Linked DNA regions of Homo sapiens: regions 1 and 3 are each linked to region 2. The links are contacts of gene promoters, found by promoter capture Hi-C in blood cells and fetal thymus (Javierre and others, 2016). All regions are on one chromosome and are shown on one strand. The core of a region is centred on a gene start or on the middle of the fragment in contact, and the rest is flanking DNA. Distances in the headings are between cores, read along the strand shown.

Region 1 (4,492 bases), core at 939-3,438, 180 kb after region 2:
TACAAAATTGCCACCAAAAACGATGTTGATGTCCAAATTGACCAGGAGTCCTACCTGCCTGAAGACATGTAAGGAGTATTCCTGCTGCTAACAGCTACCTTCTCTCCCTGGGAGAGTGGCCTTTATACCAGGCCTTTTTTAAATGGTATTTTCACCATTTAAACGCACTCTTAGACACAAGGCTAGAGCTGTGGTGTATTCTACTTGCAGCCGTTCCTGTTGTTCTCGCAGTGCTCTCTTGCTCTCCCTTGTTGGCTGGCTAAATATACTCTAAAAGTCTAGTTTGGCCAGGTGCGGTGGCTCACGCCTGTAATCCCAACACTTTGGGAGGCTGAGGCAGGTGGATCACAAGGTCAAGAGATCGAGACCATCCTTACCAACATGGCCTAGGGAGCTAGACTCCCTATCATACCAGTCCACCCTCTGCTCATAGTCCAGTCCTGTCTCTACTAAAAATACAAAAATTAGCTGAGCGTGGTGGCGCACGCCTGTAGTCCCAGCTACCCAGGAGGCTGAGGCAGGAGAATTGCTTGAATCCAGGAGGTGGAGGTTGTAGCGAGCCAAGAACACGCCACTCACTGGACTCCAGTATGGCGACAGAGCAAGACTGCATCTCAGAAAAAAAAAAGTCTGGTTTATGGTCACTGCTTTCCTTCTGCGGGGAGGTGGCCCCCAGAATGAAAGCTAGGACCAGATCTCTGTATTGGATGCTGAGGTAGATACTCCCTTCTTCTAAGTAATAGTTATCAAAACAAGAATTGTGTATGCCTGGTAGTTAGGTTCCTTAGAGATAGAATTGCAAGTATGAGTGGTATTTTTATGACTGTGAGGAAATGACAGAACATTTCTGGGATCAGTGTTCCTAACAAGCTTTGTGTAGCTGGGGTAGGCAGTAGAAACTCCTGACAAGGGGAGAGCCAGTGTCATTTTCTCGATTTCACTGGCCTGTCTGAGGCCACCTAGCCACACTACTGACTAACATTGAAGAAAGTACCTTGGACACTTTTTTTTTTTTTTTAAGACAGGCAGTCTCACTCTGTCACCCAGGCTGGAGTACAGTGGCATGATCTTGGCTCACTGCAACCTCTGCCTCCCAGGTTCAAGCGATTTTCCTGCCTTAGCCTCCTGAGTAGCTGGGACTACAGGCGCCTGCCACCACGCCCAGCTAATTTTTTTGTATTTTTAGTAGAGATGGGGTTTCACTGTGTTAGCCAGGATGGTCTCGATCTCCTGACCTCGTGATCTGCCCGCTCGGCCTCCCAAAGTGCTGGGATTACAGGCGTGAGCCACCATGCCTGGTGCCTTGGACACATTTTGAAGTTAGCTGATTATCACACTTAGGAATGTAAGACCTAGATTTGAGTCCTATCTTGGCCTTTTGCTACTATGGGACCTGGAGACTGAATTCATCATATGTAAAATAGGATCATTGCTTTTTGCTTTTTTGTTTCATGCAGTGAAGAAAAAAAGATGAGATAGTACATGTGAAAATGCTCTGTAAATGGAAAAAGTATATAAACTCATAAGATATGCTGTCAGAGTTGGGTTAGATTCCTGATTCTGCCACTTACTACCTGGGTAATCTTGGACTCGTTTATTCAGTTTCATTGAGTGGTGTCGTCCATTTAGTGTTGCTATAACAGAATACCCGAGGCTGGGTAATTCATGGAGAAAAGAGGTTTATTTGGTTCATGATTCTCATGGCTGGAAAGTTCAAGATTGGACAGCTGCATCTGGTGAGGGCCTCAGGCTGCTTCCACTCATGGCAGAAGGTGGAAGGGGAGTGGGTGTGTGCATAGAGACCACATGGCGAGAGAGGAGGCCAGAGAGCCTAGGGAACCAGACTCCCTATCATACCAGCCCACCCTCTGCTCACAGTCGAGTCCTGCCGGAGCTAGAATCCAGGCCCTCGCCACAGTTCATTGCCTCGGGATCTGCCCTTGAGCCCTGAACACCTCCTACTATGCTCCACCTCCCAACACTGCCACATTGAGAATCAAATTTCACCATTAGTTTCTGAGGGAACAGACTCAAACCATAGTAGTGAGCCCTGATTCCCTTATCTGTAAATTGACGTATTAGCACTAACCTCATAGCATTTTTTATCTTATTTATTTATTTATTTATTTTTTGAGACAGAGTCTCACTCTCACCCAGGCTGGAGTGCAGTGGCACGACCTCGGCTCACTGCAAGCTCCACCTCCCAGGTTCACACCATTCTCCTGCCTTAGCCTCCCGATTAGCTGGGACTACAGGCACCCGCCACCATGCCTCGCTAATTTTTTTTGTATTTTTAGTAGAGACGGGGTTTCACCTTGTTAGCCAGGATTGTCTCAATCTCCTGATGTCGTGATCTGCCCACCTCGGCCTCTCAAAGAGCTGGGATTACAGGCGTGAGCCACCGCACCCAGCCTCTTTTTTTGTTGTTGTTGTTGTATTTTGAGTAAGGGTCTCTTTCTGTCACCCAAGCTGGAGTGCAGTGGTGTGATCTCGGCTTGCTGCAACCTCTGCCTCCTGGGTTCAAGCAATTCTCCTGCCTCAGTCTCTCAAGTAGCTGGGACTACAGGCACGCCCCACCATGCCCAGCTAATTTTTGTATTTTTAGTGGAGACAGGCTTTCGCCATGTTGGCCAGGCTGGCCTCAAACTTGAGTTTGGGAGCACCTCGGCCTCCCAAAGTGCTGGGATTACAGGGGTGAGCTACCACGCCCGGCCAGCAGTGGCATCTTTTATCAGACACACATGCAGTCGTGATAGGGCCTCATCAGTAATGAGCAGGATTGGGCTTAAGAAAACATTCAGATGAGGATTGAGTGATTTGCAAACTGAGATGAAATCCTCTCTTTTTCATTTTGTTGGGGAGGGCTGGCTGTGATAATTAAAACAGGTTTTGTAACATAAAATCAAATTGACACAGGCTGGGCGCGGTGACTCACTCCTGTAATCCCAACACTTGTGGAGGCAGAGGTGGGCGGATCACCTGAGGTCAGGAGTTCAAGACCAGCCTGGCCAACATGGTGAAACCCCGTCTCTACAACAATACAAAAATTAGCCAGGCGTGATGGCAGGTGCCTGTAATCCCAGCTACTGGGGAGGCTGACGCAGGAGAATTGCTTGAACTCGGGAGGCAGAGGTTGCAGTGAGCCAAGATCGCACCATTGCACTCCTGCCTGGGCAACAGAGCGAGTCTCAAAAAAAACAAAACAAATTGACACATAGTGTCACTTGGTAAATGACAGTTATTGAGATGAATACAGTCAGTTCTCTGTATCTTTGGGGTCCACACCTGTGAATTCAACCAACTTTTTCTTTTCACTCCCTAAACACTACGGTATAACAACCATTTACATCGTATTAGCTATTTTAAGTGCTGTAGACATGATTTGCAATATAGGGGAGGATGTGTGATGGTTGTATGCAAATACTACGCTGTTTCATATAATGGACATCTAGGCGGGGACTGGGGTTTCCTGAAACCAACTGTGCGTTACATCTTCAGAAGCTTTTTCAGTTCCTTTCAAGCCTGTTGCTTAGGTTGCGCAGTCTACACACCAAGACAAGGGCATTCCTCTGCGGGAGTAAAGGGTACCATGTATCTTTCTCAAGTCTTTGAAAATGATTATTTCCTGTGCTTTTTTTTTTGCAGAGCTGGTGGAGTTGAGATCTATAATGGAGATCGTAAAATAAAGGTTTCCAACACCCTGGAAAGCCGGCTGGATCTCATAGCCCAGCAGGTGAGTGTGGGGGTACTTCTTGGTAGTTGGTCTGCTGTTACTTTGAAGTGGGACAGAGAACACGTGTCCATTCACTGGTATTTGGGATTTGTTGCTGTCTTTCCAGTTTTGGACATTTTCTCAAAAAGAATGAGAATTGGGCATGTAGTAGCATTTGCTGAGGTGGTAACATTTACATGAGGGTGAATTTGGGGTCAGAACAAGTGTTTTGTTGACCTAGGATTCGAATATGTACATTTTACTACATGTAAGGTGCTGACAAGTTCTTTCTCTAACAGGAGTGATGGGAACTAAAGCAAATACTTGTGTTTTTTTGTTTTGTTTTGCTTTTTTGAGATGGAGTTTCACTCTTTTTTGCGCAGGCTGGAGTGCAGTCTTGGCTCACTGCAACTTCCACCTCCCAGGTTCAAGCGATTCTCCTGCTTCAGCCTCCCGAGTAGCTGGGATTACAGGCACCTGCCACCACACCCGGCTAATTTTGTATTTTTAGTAGAGACGGGGTTTCACCATGTTGGCCAGGCTGTTATCAAATTCCTGACCTCAGGTGATCCACCCGCCTTGGCCTCCCAAAGTGCTGGGATTACAGGTGTGAGCCACCGTGCTCAGACACAAATACTTATTTAAAGGAATTATCATAAAGCTGCTGGCTTTTCAGATGTTTCCAGATTTGTACACAGGAACTCTAGGAAACAAGCCAGGAAAATTCCATTTGTTCTAAAATGCTGGGCATCTTCTAGACTTCTAGTGGGAGTCTATTGC
Region 2 (3,917 bases), core at 370-2,869:
CAGGTCCTGCCCTGCATGACAGGGCCAGTGGCCCCCACAGTGCTGAGGATAAAATCCAACTGCTCATCCAGGCTGCTGGAGCCTCCTGCCTTCAGGCCACCCCACTGGCCTCTTGCCCACTGTGCCCCACTGTCCAAGCTCTCGCCTGCCCTGGGAGGGGCCCCTGCAGCTTCTTGTGCCCAGGTGCACGTCCCTCTCTTTTCCCATCTGGGCGCCTGCTGACATTGTACCATGAATTTGAACACCACCCTGCAGATGACCTGGCCTCAGTCCATGAAGTTTCCCTTTCGTCTTCTGCAGGGCACCGGCCCCTAATGCCATCTGACGGTTTCCCTGCTCACAGGATCTTCCATTTGTTAGCCCCCCAGAGTGCCCAGCCCGAGTGAAGAGCATGCAGGAAACAAGCCCCTGTCCTCGTGGAGGCTACATTCCGAGAGGGGAGGTAGGCAACACACACACAAACGACTCCGTGGTATGTCATGCTGCGATGCTGGCTGTGGAGGAAAATGAAGTGAGGCCTGGTGAAAGCCAGAGGCCATGGGGCTGCCGAGGAGGAACAGGGACAGGGTAGGATTTGCTTAGAGCAGGGCAGGTCGCGTGGGACTCTGCGGGCCACTGAAAGGAACTTGGCTTTTATTCAGAGGATGTTAAAGCGTGAGTGACATCCTCTGACCTTTTATAAAAGAGGCAAGAGTCTAGGGAGCCCGGGTAGAAGTGAGGGCGTCTGGAGGAGCCACAGTGGGCTCAGGGAGTGAGCCCACGCGAGGGCGCAGAGCAACTGGACGCTCCAACAGGGCTGGTGGAAGTGCCGAACGGTGTGCATCACCTTGGAAAGCAGGCAGTTTTTAATACCATGAAGCTCGTCCAGCCCTATGATTCGCATTTCCACTCCTAGGTATCACACTCAAGAGAAGTGAAGACGCCCACAAAGGGCTCTGCAGCAGCACTGCCGGTGAGAGCTGCATCCGGGGATGCATGGACTGGCCTGTCATTCCAGCACCTTGGGAGGCCGAGGTGGGAAGCATCGCTGGAGCCCAGGAGTTCGAGACCAGCCTGAGACCTCCAGAGGTGGAGACCCCCCCCCCACCACCTCCACTAAAAACTGAAAAAGAAATTAGTTGGGTGTGGTGTGCGCCTGTAGTCCCAGCATTATCTATATGTTAAACTGATGTTTTAAATCAGAGTTGATATCCAAATAATTAAAGAATAAACAACAAGCACAGGGACTGGTGAGGGGCTGGGCCAGATTCTCTGCAACCCACATGGCTTCACCCACTTTCCAAACCCCTGGTTCCGTGAGGACCTAGAATGACCACCCCAGACTGTTCCAGAAACAGCCTGGGGATTCTGAATGTTTCCCAGAGAATCATTAGGAATTATCCCAGCGGCGCTGGAGTAAGTGGCCAACTTAAAGTTGGACGACACTGTCTGAAACAGTCGCGTAAGGGGTAAGGGTGGAAAGCCTGGTTCTCACTGCGCTGCCGGCTCCCCGCCCCGCTCCACAGCCCCGCGCCGGCGCGGGCTCCCCGGGTCCCCGCAAGCCGCCGGGGGCGGGCCGGGGCGGGCCGGGGCGGGCCCGGGCGTGGGGGGCCGAAGGAGGAAGCGCGCGGGGCGCCATAAGGAGGAAGCGGGTAGTCGACCGTGTCCGCGCGCCTGGGAGACGCTGCCTCGGCCCGGACGCGCCCGCGCCCCCGCGGCTGGAGGGTGGTGAGTGCACCCGCGCCCCTCCCGGGGTACGCGCCGAGCCCCAGCCCGTGACCCCTGCCTGCCGCCTGCCCCGGCGTGGAGCTCAGGGCCCGCCGCCCGCCCTGGGCCCGACCGCGGTGGGAGCCAGAGGAGGGGAGGCGGGGGGTCAGAGCCCCAGGCCTCAGCAGCGACCTGAGGGCCGGGTCTCTCCCGCCTCCCCTCCGCCCGGGCGCCCTCCTCGGCGCGGCCGGCAGGTCGGTGCTGAGGGTCGGGTCCGCCTCGGAGGCGGGGAAGGCTTTGTTGTGTCCTCTCCACGTGGCCTGGGGATTCAGGGGAGGGGTGCGGGGCGCGGGGAGGGGGAGGGGCCGAGGCCAGCCCCGGAGAGGAGAAAACCCGCGGGCCTGGCCGGGTGCAGGCCACCCTTGCCGGCGGATCGGAATCCCCGCCCACACCGTGGTCTTTCCAGCACCGCAGACACCTGCCGGCTCCTCCCGAGCGGAGCTCAGGGCTGACAAAGCGCGGTCAGAGCGGCCGCTTACTGGGGCTCGCCCGCTCCTTAGAGCACTGGCAATGATGTGCGGATCCTCGCTGCTGCTGCTGGGAAACTGTTGAGTGGCTGAATGACCCCAGGGGACCCTGGGAGAGCTCTGAAGCCCTCAGCCACCAAGTGGCTGGGCTGGCAAGGGTTCATTCATTCATTCAACAAATACGAATGTGCAGCGGTGCTGGGGTCATGATGGCTCGGTGGGCAGCGAGGGGCCGGGCCGGCTGGAGGAGCACAGTGCGGATTCTGTAAGTGGGCTGGGGGCTGGGCCTTCTGCGGCTGGACCGGCCTTCACCTGCAGGCAGGGTTGGGGCAGGTGAGGAGCAGATGGACCCACCCAGAGCTCTTCCACCTTCTCAGGCTTGCACCCCCTTCCTGGAGCCTTATCCACACCCTCAGTCCTCGCTCTCACTGTGGGGGAGCTGCAGAGGATGCGGTTTTTCCACATTCCATCTCCACCCACAGGAGGCTTTGAGATGGGGGGAGCTCTCCTGGGCCTGAATGTGTGCCGTCCTGGGGCCCTGCAGTCCCCTGGGAGTGATGACCGAGACCAGATTCCCTGAGCTGGGGTCTTAAGGGTGTGGGGAGCGCAGAGGGATCCTCTGGCATCAGGAGTTGAGGTAGACAGAGCTCCAGGGAGGCACTGCCGGGAGGACGACCCTGGCCAAGCCTCTGCCTGCGGCCCAGGGTGTGCGTCCCTGCCCCTTCTGCCCCTCTTGCCCAGGGAGGGAAGAGGAAATGCGGGGTCAGCAGTTCGTGGCTGGGGTTTAAAGGCAGGGATCTCCCAGGACGGGCACAGGGAGCATGAGGAAGCAGCTCGTGTCTCTGTTCATGAGATGTGAGAGTGGTGACTGAGACGAGGGGTGCAGAGACCTGCCGTGGCTGGGGCGAGGTGCTGTTAGTGCTTCTGAGGAGGTTGGGCAGGATAGACGGTGGCTGTCAGGTGGTCTCAAGGTTGTGCAGGAGCTTGCCAGAGAGGGAAGCGGGGCATGGCCCCAGGGTGGTATGGGGGATTCTAGGGGGAGGGTGCCTGGGTGGGAAGGGGTGTCGCATGCCCAGCTCAGAGGCCTTGCTTAGGGGTGCTCACAGGCTCGGCTGACGTGAGGATGCTGATCGAAGGAGCTGAGGGTCCCACTCATTTGCAAGGGGGAACTGTCTGCCCAGGAGCCCCAGCAGTGCCCAGGCCCCTGGACTGACAAGGATGGATGAGGGTGATGGAGGCGGATGGACATTTGACACTGGAGCCTGCCTTCCAGGCAGAAGGGCCGTGAGTCATCCTCTCTCCGGTGCCAAGTGGAGGGGCTGAGCAGGTCCTCGACGTGACCGAGGACTGTGCCCGTTTTTTCAGGGGACCCGGAGCGCTGGCTCTGGCTGTCAGCCCATGAGAGACCTCCCTGCAGAGCTGTGGCCTCTGGAAATGCTTCCTGTCGTTGACATCTGGTCACCATTCTCCAGCTGGGGCTGTGGAGGGCAGCACAGGCCTGGAGTGTCCCCGAGAGCAGCTGGGCGTCTGCCCCTGCCCACCCCACAGGGCCTCCCACTCACAGGGCCTAATTAGCAGCTCCATGGCTGCCATACCTGGCGGACCGCCCTCAGCGGCCACATATATCCTTGCCCCAAGCCAATGACAGGTCTGAAGAAGACACTGATGGAGCTGAAGCACAGGACAGAGACAAGCACCTGTGTG
Region 3 (4,213 bases), core at 1-2,500, 220 kb before region 2:
CTACACGGAACCGGGCTTGCCTGGCCTAGCAGAAAGCCAGCCGCAGCGAGACCCTCCGCCTGGCATGCGGCACTGGTGAGCCGCCACCCCGCTTGCTCAGTAGGTAGCCGGGACGAAGGGGTCTGGCAGGCCCCTCAGGCAAGGCCTCTGTGCCGCATCCCGTTAAGGGGCGGGGACCAGCCCCGTATCTTGGCTGGTCTTCCTGACTCTGAATGCAGAGAAAGTATGTCCAAGAGTTCAAACCACATTTGTGTTCTTTTAATGGTGTTTAATGCAGATGTTAATTGTGATTTATGTGAAACGGGTTGATGTAGAGGAATGAAGGTCAACTGTGGACAGGTGGACAGCTTTTTTTTTTTTTTTCCCCCTAAGCTTGTTTTTAGTGGGATGTGCATGGAGAGGATGACATTTGAATATCAGGCCACCAATGTGTATTTGGTCCCATCTGACACTTTGCTCCATAGACAGTCGTTGTACTCCAGGGATGAGGATGAACTGGGTTTTAAGCTGAGAAAGACATCTTCCTACAGTCGCTGCCGCCTGCGGGAAAGCCCCGCCTTCTGGTTACCTGGCCGCACACAGGCCAGTTCATTGTGGTTACCTTCTCCCGTGAGCACATCTCTGCAGCCCTCTCAGAGGATGCCGTTCATTCCATATTTGATTGCCAGATGTACTTCTCAGGTCAGAAATCCAGCCCCAGATTGTTCAAGTCTTATAGTGAGTTTTTCTTGTGCTCCAGGTTTAGAAGTTTTAAATCTCTTTTATAGTGTATTCAACAGCTTGAGTTAATTTCATAATTATAGGAAAGACATGGTTTGTGTGTTCCTCCTGTAAAGGATACTTTAGAACTCAGACCTGGTTCCTCAGTCAAGGCTGTTTATTTGTGTTTACAGCGCTAACATTTGAAACGTCTTAAACTTGACTGCATATTGTAATTCCTCCCCCCAAACCCCCACCTGGGATGATCCTGTTCCGTGGTGGTTATTCCATGGTGTTACTAGGTGTGGAAGAGAAAATGGGCTTTGGAAATAATGTACGTGAAGAACTTAGCACAGTCCTTGGCACGTAGCAGATGTTCAATAAACATAAAAGTAAATTTTTCCTCTCTTCCTTGGGTTTGAGAGACCTGGGGATGATGATATTGGATGCAGTTTTGGTTGCATGCTCCGTTTTTAAATTAGGGTAATGAGGTCCCCCCCATTCCTCCTCCCACTCAAACTTCCAGCTCTCCAGACATTTCTGTGGTAGATTAAAAATGAAACTCACGTCTTGGTCCTAGAAGTAAAAATAAGGAAAAATTGAGCTCTTCTTCCTGGATCATGTGTTGCCCTTTAAAGGAAGGATGGCACATGCCCTGGAAGAGTGGTACACCATTCAGTACAGAAGAGCAGAGGGTCAAAGGGGACCCTTTCCTGCATCTGTCGAGTAGTCCTGCAGGTGAGGATTTTGGTTGTCGTTGGTTTCACATGTCCAGGTGGAACCAGATGAATTACCTAATTTCTCCTGGCACTGGCTTCTGGGAAGTGGCCCAGATGGTCGAAGCCTGACCATTGGCAGAGTGCTAGCTTTGCTGGGCCGTGCCTCTGAACTGGGATCTGCTAGGAGCAGCCATTTGCCTTCTCCGTCTTGTAGCAGGTTCCATGTGAACAGACGAAAAGGGCATCAAATCTAATGTTCTAGAAAAAATAAGAGCCATCATTGGCTTATTTATGTTCCATAATATTATGGGGCCTGGCATTTTAATAATAATTATGCTCTGGGCCCGGCGCGGTGGCTCACACCTGTAATCCCAGCACTTTGGGAGGCCAGGCGGGCGGATCACGAGGTCAGGAGTTCAAGACCAGCCTGGCCAACGTGGTGAAACCCTGTTTGTACTAAAAATACCAGCTGGGCGTGGTGGTGCGCGCCTGTAATCCCAGCTACTGGGGAGGCTGAGGCAGGAGAATTGCTTAACCGGGAATTGGGAGGTGGAGGTTGCAGTGAGCCAAGATCACGCCACTGCTCTCCAGCCTGGGATACAGAGCGAGACTTCATCTCAAAAAAAAAATAATAATAATAATAATTATTATTATTATTATGCTCTGGATTTACTACTTAGTTGCTTTTTACTTGAGGAAGTGAAAGCTTTTTCATGACCTGTTATCTCATTGATTCTTAATTGTCTCTGAAGTCGTTAAAGTTTAATAGAGTCTATTATTCCCATTTTATAGGCAAAGAAATGGAGGTAACATGATTTGCTTTAAGTTGCAAATGAGTTGGTCCCTGAACTGGGATTTGAATTGGGTTCTTCTTCTTCTTCTTTTTTTGAGACGGAGTCTCTTGCTCTGTCGCGCCCAGTCTGGAGTGCAATGGCGCAGTCTTGGCTCATGCACTCTGCCTCCTGGGTTCGAGCGATTCTTCTGCCTCAGCCTCTCAAGTAGCTGGGACTACAGGCACCTGCCACCACGCCCTGCTAATTTTTTGTATTTTTTAGTAGAGACAGGGTTTCACCGTGTTGGTCAGGCTGGTCTCGAACTCCTGACCTCAGGTGATTCACCCTCCTTGGCCTTCCAAAGTGCTGAGATTACAGGCGTAAGCCACCACACCCGGCCCAGGTTTTCCTTCTTAAGTTTCACTTCACTGAGACCTTTAGGGGGAAAAAATCCACACATCTTTTTCTTTTTTCTTTTCTTTTTTTTTTTTGGAAGCGGAAGGACTTAAAGATACCAGATCATTGTGCTTTTCTGATGACTAGGTAGTGGATGATAGTTAACATTTATTGAGTGTTTATCTGCAGGAATCTGTGCTAGGTGCTGCATAGACATTACCTCATTTATTCCTCACAACAACATTCAAGGTAGAACTTATCATCCCCAGTTTTACGGATGACAAGGTTTTGTGAGGTCCTAGGTCAAGGGAGTGATAGTGAGTGACAAAGCCTTGACTGAAAGCAGGGCTGGGTTCAATCCTGGGCTTTCTGATTCCAGAGTGTGTGCTCCTCCTAACCCGTGTGCTAACGGGCCTTAGGGATGACTAATGGGCAGGCCTGAGAGCCCTGACGCCTGCTGCTGCCACCACCCCAGGTCTGATGGGAGGTGGGGTTGGACGGGCTTTATGTTCTATTGCAGTACAATTTTCACATTCTGGTCTTTTCCTTTGCTAGAAGCATTCATCTAGCCAGGTGGGGGGTCATTACTTTAGAAAAAATAATCAGAGCTGAGAAAACGTCTGCATTTGCAGAGAATGAAGTATTTAATAAGACCAGATGGGCCGGGCGCAGTGGCTCATGCCTGTAATACCAACACTTTGGGAGGTTGAGGTGGGCAGATTGCTTGAGCCCAGTAGTTTGAGAGCAGACTGGGCAACATAGCTAAACCCCATCTCTACAAAAAGTACAAAAATTAGCTGGGCGTGGTGGTGTGTACCTGTGGTCCCAGCTACTCTGGAGGCTGAGGTGGGAGGATTGCCTGCGCTCAGGAGGCCGAGGTTGCAGTGAGCTGAGATCACACCACTGCACTCCAGCACTCCAGCCTGGGTGACAGAGCAAGACTCTGTCTCAAAAAAAAAAAAAAAAAAAAAAAGACTAGATGGGGAGATGAGGGACAGAGAGAATCAAAGAGAATCAAAGTGGTTTGTGGACAGAGGAAATGAGTGATACTCTGACCCAGAGGCCATCTTTAGTGTCCAGGCCATTTTGCTTGAGCTGCTGGTGAAACTGTGAAACTGGAGGCATGGCACTTGGGCTAAAGTCTGTGCGGTGAATAAGGCCCTCAGTTTCTGCTTTAGGTGGCAGAGCTGAAAATCTGATTCCTTTTTGGTCTTTAGCTTCCGGTGTACTTCAATGCAGTACATTGTGGGCGTGGTGGGGATGTGGTTCAGAAATTTACCTAAACTCTGTGGACTTCCCCCTCTCTCCAGCCACGCACTCTGTCATCTTTGGTTCCAGTCTTTAGAATTCAGCTCGGATCCCCTGGGTGATGGGTGGTGTCAGACACTCAGGTGCTTGGATTGCCCCGGTGGAGAGAACAGCATCCTGCCCCCATGGGCTTCAGTTGTACGTGACTTGCTGTTTTCTTGGAGGTGGGCTTTAGTCATCTCTAGCTATAAAGACACAAAAAAACTGGGAAGAATGACCAGGAAACTGTCACCCCAAGCCTTGCAGTTGATTGCATTTTTTTTTTTTTTTCTGAGATGGAGTCTTGCTCTGTGGGCCAGGCTGGAGTGCAGTGGCACG

Evidence for each region. The method cuts DNA at HindIII sites, captures the fragments that hold promoters and counts their contacts. A CHiCAGO score of 5 or more calls a contact.
Region 1: a fragment that was not itself captured here is called in contact with the fragment with the promoter of BID in region 2 in 1 of 17 cell types (total B cells); the score reaches 5.9 in total B cells.
Region 3: a contact is called between a fragment that was not itself captured here and the fragment with the promoter of BID in region 2, in 7 of 17 cell types (naive CD8 T cells, total B cells, total CD8 T cells and 4 more). The highest score is 7.3, in naive CD8 T cells.

Annotation. Positions count from the first base shown.
Region 1 is chr22:17,593,770-17,598,261 of GRCh38, reverse strand. ATP6V1E1 (ATPase H+ transporting V1 subunit E1) reads left to right here. Exons shown (of 9, transcript NM_001696.4): 7 at 1-68; 8 at 3,646-3,733. Among named protein-coding and RNA genes, the nearest start is that of SLC25A18, 33 kb to the right of the region's middle. The HindIII fragment of the contact is 2,631 bases long and covers 873-3,503 here.
Region 2 is chr22:17,772,171-17,776,087 of GRCh38, reverse strand. It overlaps BID (BH3 interacting domain death agonist), which reads left to right and starts at 1,619. Exons shown (of 6, transcript NM_001196.4): 1 at 1,619-1,707. RefSeq lists silencers at 1,491-1,590, 1,611-1,660, 1,681-1,750, 1,781-2,110. The HindIII fragment of the contact is 11,451 bases long and covers 1-3,917 here.
Region 3 is chr22:17,996,398-18,000,610 of GRCh38, reverse strand. The region is part of intron 1 of MICAL3 (microtubule associated monooxygenase, calponin and LIM domain containing 3); the gene reads left to right. Among named protein-coding and RNA genes, the nearest start is that of MIR648, 18 kb to the right of the region's middle. RefSeq lists an enhancer at 3,971-4,170. The HindIII fragment of the contact is 1,752 bases long and covers 375-2,126 here.